Linked DNA regions of Homo sapiens: region 1 is linked to region 2. The links are contacts of gene promoters, found by promoter capture Hi-C in human tissues and cell types (Jung and others, 2019). All regions are on one chromosome and are shown on one strand. Each heading gives the region's core, a stretch centred on a gene start or on the middle of the fragment in contact. The rest is flanking DNA. Distances are from core to core; before and after follow the strand shown. Region 1 overlaps PSKH1 (protein serine kinase H1). Region 2 holds the start of HSD11B2 (hydroxysteroid 11-beta dehydrogenase 2).

What was found. The method cuts DNA at HindIII sites, captures the fragments that hold promoters and counts their contacts. A contact is called where the count stands out against the background at its distance.
Region 1: a fragment that was not itself captured here is called in contact with the fragment with the promoter of HSD11B2 in region 2 in 1 of the 25 tissues and cell types used here (dorsolateral prefrontal cortex).

Annotation. Positions count from the first base shown.
Region 1 is chr16:67,927,149-67,929,848 of GRCh38, forward strand. It overlaps PSKH1 (protein serine kinase H1), which reads left to right. Exons shown (of 3, transcript NM_006742.3): 3 at 177-2,528. The coding sequence ends at 494. It overlaps CTRL (chymotrypsin like), which reads right to left. Exons shown (of 7, transcript NM_001907.3): 7 at 2,426-2,700. Among named protein-coding and RNA genes, the nearest start is that of CTRL, 3.4 kb to the right of the region's middle. RefSeq lists enhancers at 1-325, 1,698-2,408. The HindIII fragment of the contact is 3,913 bases long and covers 1-2,700 here.
Region 2 is chr16:67,429,816-67,432,515 of GRCh38, forward strand. HSD11B2 (hydroxysteroid 11-beta dehydrogenase 2) reads left to right here and starts at 1,306. Exons shown (of 5, transcript NM_000196.4): 1 at 1,306-1,698. The coding sequence starts at 1,434. RefSeq lists silencers at 975-1,024, 1,245-1,424. The HindIII fragment of the contact is 17,409 bases long and covers 1-2,700 here.

The sequences.
Region 1 (2,700 bases), core at 55-2,554, 500 kb after region 2:
GGAGAGCAGCCCTTGTTCAGCCTGAGCCAGCGTTGGGCGGGGAGGCCCCAAGTGCTACATGAGAGGAGGGGCAGCACCTCTCTCTGGAAAGGGGAGGGTTGCTGAGTAGTGGCCTCATCCAGATGGGGTGGGCAGTGTCAGATGCTCTCACTCTAATGCTTGTCCTTGGTCTCTAGCCCTGGCCTAGTGTGTCCAACCTGGCCAAGGACTTCATTGACCGCCTGCTGACAGTGGACCCTGGAGCCCGTATGACTGCACTGCAGGCCCTGAGGCACCCGTGGGTGGTGAGCATGGCTGCCTCTTCATCCATGAAGAACCTGCACCGCTCCATATCCCAGAACCTCCTTAAACGTGCCTCCTCGCGCTGCCAGAGCACCAAATCTGCCCAGTCCACGCGTTCCAGCCGCTCCACACGCTCCAATAAGTCACGCCGTGTGCGGGAACGGGAGCTGCGGGAGCTCAACCTGCGCTACCAGCAGCAATACAATGGCTGAGCCGCCTGGCTGTGCACACATGCAGCACGACCCAGCCTGGCCACACACTGTGGTGCCATCTGGGTCCGATGCCCTCTCTGGAGATAGGCCTATGTGGCCCACAGTAGGTGAAGAATGTCTGGCTCCAGCCCTTTCTCTGTGCCTTCAGCAGCCCCTGTCCTCACCATGGGCCTGGGCCAGGTGTGACAGAGTAGAGGTAGCACAGGGGGCTGTGACTCCCCCTGAACTGGGAGCCTGGCCTGGCACTGATACCCCTCTTGGTGGGCAGCTGCTCTGGTGGAGTTGGGAAGGGATAGGACCTGGCCTTCACTGTCTCCCTTGCCCTTTGACTTTTCCCCAATCAAAGGGAACTGCAGTGCTGGGTGGAGTGTCCTGTGGCCTCAGGACCCTTTGGGACAGTTACTTCTGGGACCCCCTTTCCTCCACAGAGCCCTTCTCCCTGGTTTCACACATTCCCATGCATCCTGATCCTTAAGATTATGCTCCAGTGGGAGACCCTGGTAGGCACAAAGCTTGTGCCTTGACTGGACCCGTAGCCCCTGGCTAGGTCGAAACAGCCCTCCACCTCCCAGCCAAGATCTGTCTTCCTTCATGGTGCCTCCAGGGAGCCTTCCTGGTCCCAGGACCTCTGGTGGAGGGCCATGGCGTGGACCTTCACCCTTCTGGACTGTGTGGCCATGCTGGTCATCGGCTTGCCCAGGCTCCAGCCTCTCCAGATTCTGAGGGGTCTCAGCCCACCGCCCTTGGTGCCTTCTTTGTAGAGCCCACCGCTACCTCCCTCTCCCCGTTGGATGTCCATTCCATTCCCCAGGTGCCTCCTTCCCAACTGGGGGTGGTTAAAGGGAGCCCCACTGCTGCTACCTGGGGAATGGGGCACCTGGGGGCCAAGGCAGAGGGAAGGGGGTCCTCCCGATTAGGGTCGAGTGTCAGCCTGGGTTCTATCCTTTGGTGCAGCCCCATTGCCTTTTCCCTTCAGGCTCTGTTGCTCCCTCCTCTGCAGCTGCACGAAGGCGCCATCTGGTGTCTGCATGGGTGTTGGCAGCCTGGGAGTGATCACTGCACGCCCATCGTGCACACCTGCCCATCGTGCACACCCACCCATGGTGCACACCTGTAGTCCTCCATGAGGACATGGGAAGGTAGGAGTTGCCGCCCTGGGGGAGGGTCCCGGGCTGCTCACCTCTCCCCTTCTGCTGAGCTTCTGCGCACCCCTCCCTGGAACTTAGCCATACTGTGTGACCTGCCTCTGAAACCAGGGTGCCAGGGGCACTGCCTTCTCACAGCTGGCCTTGCCCCGTCCACCCTGTGCTGCTTCCCTTCACAGCATTAACCTTCCAGTCTGGGTCCCACTGAGCCTCAAGCTGGAAGGAGCCCCTGCGGGAGGTGGGTGGGGTTGGGTGGCTGCTTTCCCAGAGGCCTGAGCCAGAACCATCCCCATTTCTTTTGTGGTATCTCCCCCTACCACAAACCAGGCTGGAACCCAAGCCCCTTCCTCCACAGCTGCCTTCAGTGGGTAGAATGGGGCCAGGGCCCAGCTTTGGCCTTAGCTTGACGGCAGGGCCCCTGCCATTGCAGGAGGGTTTGGTTCCCACTCAGCTTCTGCCGGTCGGCAGCCTGGGCCAGGCCCTTTTCCTGCATGTGCCACCTCCAGTGGGAAACAAAACTAAAGAGACCACTCTGTGCCAAGTCGACTATGCCTTAGACACATCCTCCTACCGTCCCCAATGCCCCCTGGGCAGGAGGCAGTGGAGAACCAAGCCCCATGGCCTCAGAATTTCCCCCCAGTTCCCCAAGTGTCTCTGGGGACCTGAAGCCCTGGGGCTTACGTTCTCTCTTGCCCAGGGTGGGCCTGGTCCTGAGGGCAGGACAGGGGGTTTGGAGATGTGGGCCTTTGATAGACCCACTTGGGCCTTCATGCCATGGCCTGTGGATGGAGAATGTGCAGTTATTTATTATGCGTATTCAGTTTGTAAACGTATCCTCTGTATTCAGTAAACAGGCTGCCTCTCCAGGGAGGGCTGCCATTCATTCCAACAGTTCTGGCTTCTTGCTGTAGGACCAAGGGGTTGCCCTGGAGGAGGGGTGGGGGCCCCGGCCTCGGCATGGCTACTCTAGGAAGAGCCACTGCTACTCAAGGAGTCACTCAGCCCCTTCTGTGCCAGAAGTCCAAGTAGGGAGTCGGACCCTCAACAGCCTCTTCTTTCTC
Region 2 (2,700 bases), core at 56-2,555:
CACCAGGGGGCTGTGTCTGGTGGCAGAGAGGGCTTTGGAGGAGGCATTGCCCTGAAACCCTGGCAGAGCCTGGGCACCTAAGAGAGAATGAGCAACAGGGCTAGGAAGTGTGACAGGGAGTCCACAACCTCCCAGGATCTTGGGAGGGCAGGGATGAGGCACTGAGCACGGCCTGGAAGCCCACGGGAAGCAGGGACCCCTCTGTCGAGGGCTACACCTACTGCTCTCAGCATCAAGCCTGCAGCCAGGTACTGGCACCAACTCCCAGTGCCTGGCAGAGCCCTGGCATGGATGCTAGGCACAGGGTGCCAGACACGGGGGTGGGCAGGGTGGGGGGCCACTGGGCCACACACAAGCATGGAGACCTTCACACACGCAGGCAGAAAAATCCACCCACACTCATACCACTTATTTTACCCCCTGGGGGTTCAGGGGAGCAAGGCAGGGACCACCCTGTCCTAGAGGCTGCCTTCACCGACGTCCCTCTGGCCTGGCTCTTGGGGTTGGCGGGGGTGGGCCATAAGTAATGGGAGACCTAGGTGCTTCCTCTGACACCCCACCCTCCACTGACCCCCACACACATACATTTGTGAGGCAGGAAGTGGGGTTGTGCGTCCCCAGGTTTAAGCCCTGGAAGGAAAGGGAAAGACGGGGCAGAGACTCCAAGAACCGGGAGCGGTCGTCCTGTTCCCCCGCCAGCCCCTGTCCCAGGCAGGTTTTGTGGCCGCGAGCTGCTCAGGGGTGAGCGCGCCTTAGGGTGTGTGCGCCAGGGACCTGGCGCAGCCGACCACGTGGGAGTGCGGCGCGTGTACGGGCGCGGGCGGCAGCGGCAGCGGCAGCGGAGACCGGGTGAGCACCGGCTGGTTCCTCGCGGTGTTCCTGCAGGCTTGGCGGCCGCGGTGGTGCGATCAGCAAAGGGCACCGGGATGCCGGTTGTGCGTGTCCTCAGGTGTCCCGAACAAGCGTGAGTGGCATGTGCTCACCTGAGCGCGGCGGCTTGGCGGCCCCGGGCGTGTGGGTGGGGGCGCGGCGGAGAGCTGAGGCCGGGCACCCGGGCTGGACCGACGGGCCCTCTCCCAAGCACCGCCCGCAGCCAGGCGGCTCCTCGAGCGCAGCAACTTTGGGACTTTGTTCCGGCTTTTTCCAAATCGAATCTGGTCGAGGGGGCGGGGCGGGGGGGGAGCACCTGCCCTGCGGGGGGTGCCGGGAGAGAAGTGAAGGAAAGCCCCGCCCCCGCCCCTCCCGCTCCCCGCCCTCTCCCCCGCCCCCGGGGCTCTTCATAAGCTCGGCCCGAGGGCGAGCAGAGAAAGCGAGTGTCCCTCTCGCGCCCCAGGCCGGTGTACCCCCGCACTCCGCGCCCCGGCCTAGAAGCTCTCTCTCCCCGCTCCCCGGCCCGGCCCCCGCCCCGCCCCGCCCCAGCCCGCTGGGCCGCCATGGAGCGCTGGCCTTGGCCGTCGGGCGGCGCCTGGCTGCTCGTGGCTGCCCGCGCGCTGCTGCAGCTGCTGCGCTCAGACCTGCGTCTGGGCCGCCCGCTGCTGGCGGCGCTGGCGCTGCTGGCCGCGCTCGACTGGCTGTGCCAGCGCCTGCTGCCCCCGCCGGCCGCACTCGCCGTGCTGGCCGCCGCCGGCTGGATCGCGTTGTCCCGCCTGGCGCGCCCGCAGCGCCTGCCGGTGGCCACTCGCGCGGTGCTCATCACCGGTGAGTGCGCGGGTCGCGGAGCGCGGGGACTCCAGGCTCGAGGGCGGGACTGGACACTCAACAGGACTGACTCCCCATGGGCACAGCCAAGGCGGGCTCCTCAGCGCAAGAGTGGGAGAGTTCTCCACCCCTGGGTGCAGGGAGCGAGCCAAATAGGGAGCGCCGGGCACCTCCCCAAGCCCGGGTTCACTACCTGCCGCTGCGGGGAGTGTTGGAGGGAAAGTGAGACAGGGAGTGGGCCGGTTCGAGAAGGAAACTGACTGGTGGCTGAGAAGAGGGAACCTCCTGGAGTTTGAGAGTTTATGCCATTCCCTTCCCCAAGAGAGCAGTCTCAGGGGACTTCGGAGGCCTTGAGAAGGGAGGATCGTTACCCCTTGAACTCTGCCTGACATCCCCACCTAAGATACCCATCTCCCATTCCTCGGGCCAGAGGGAAGAGCTTAGATGGGGAACTTCCCCACCCCACCCATCCCCCACTGGCTGGGATCCTTGGAGTTCAGAAAAGCTAGAGGTCACCGTGAGGGGCAGCTGGACATTCAGCTGTCTTTCTGTCTAGCCACCCACTGCCAAACTGCTGAGGCAGTAGTTTGGAGCCTACACCCAGCACCCCACCCCCAAGCCCTCCTGGTCCTCTGTGCCCAGGAAGGAGCTCTTAGAGAGCTGGGCTCAGGTGCCTCTGGCCGCCTAGCTGAGCTCCTTTGTCTGGAGCAGGGAATAAATCTGTCACCAGAGGGAGGGAAGGGGAAGGGGGGGGGGGGCTGGAGGCCCGCCGGAAGTGGGGAGGGGGAGAAAGGCCAGGGGGCACTGACTCCATTGCATCGTGGGAGGAGCAGCCTGGTCTCTCGCCAATACCCACGGCTTTGGACAGGTGCTCCAGGCTTTGTCCTTGCGCTGGGCCTTTGCTGGGGCAGCCAGCAACCTGGCTTCTCAGAGACCTCGGTCTAGTAGGGGCCCTGTGTGATCAGATGGGGCTGGGAGAATTTTCCGGAGGAGGAAATCCTT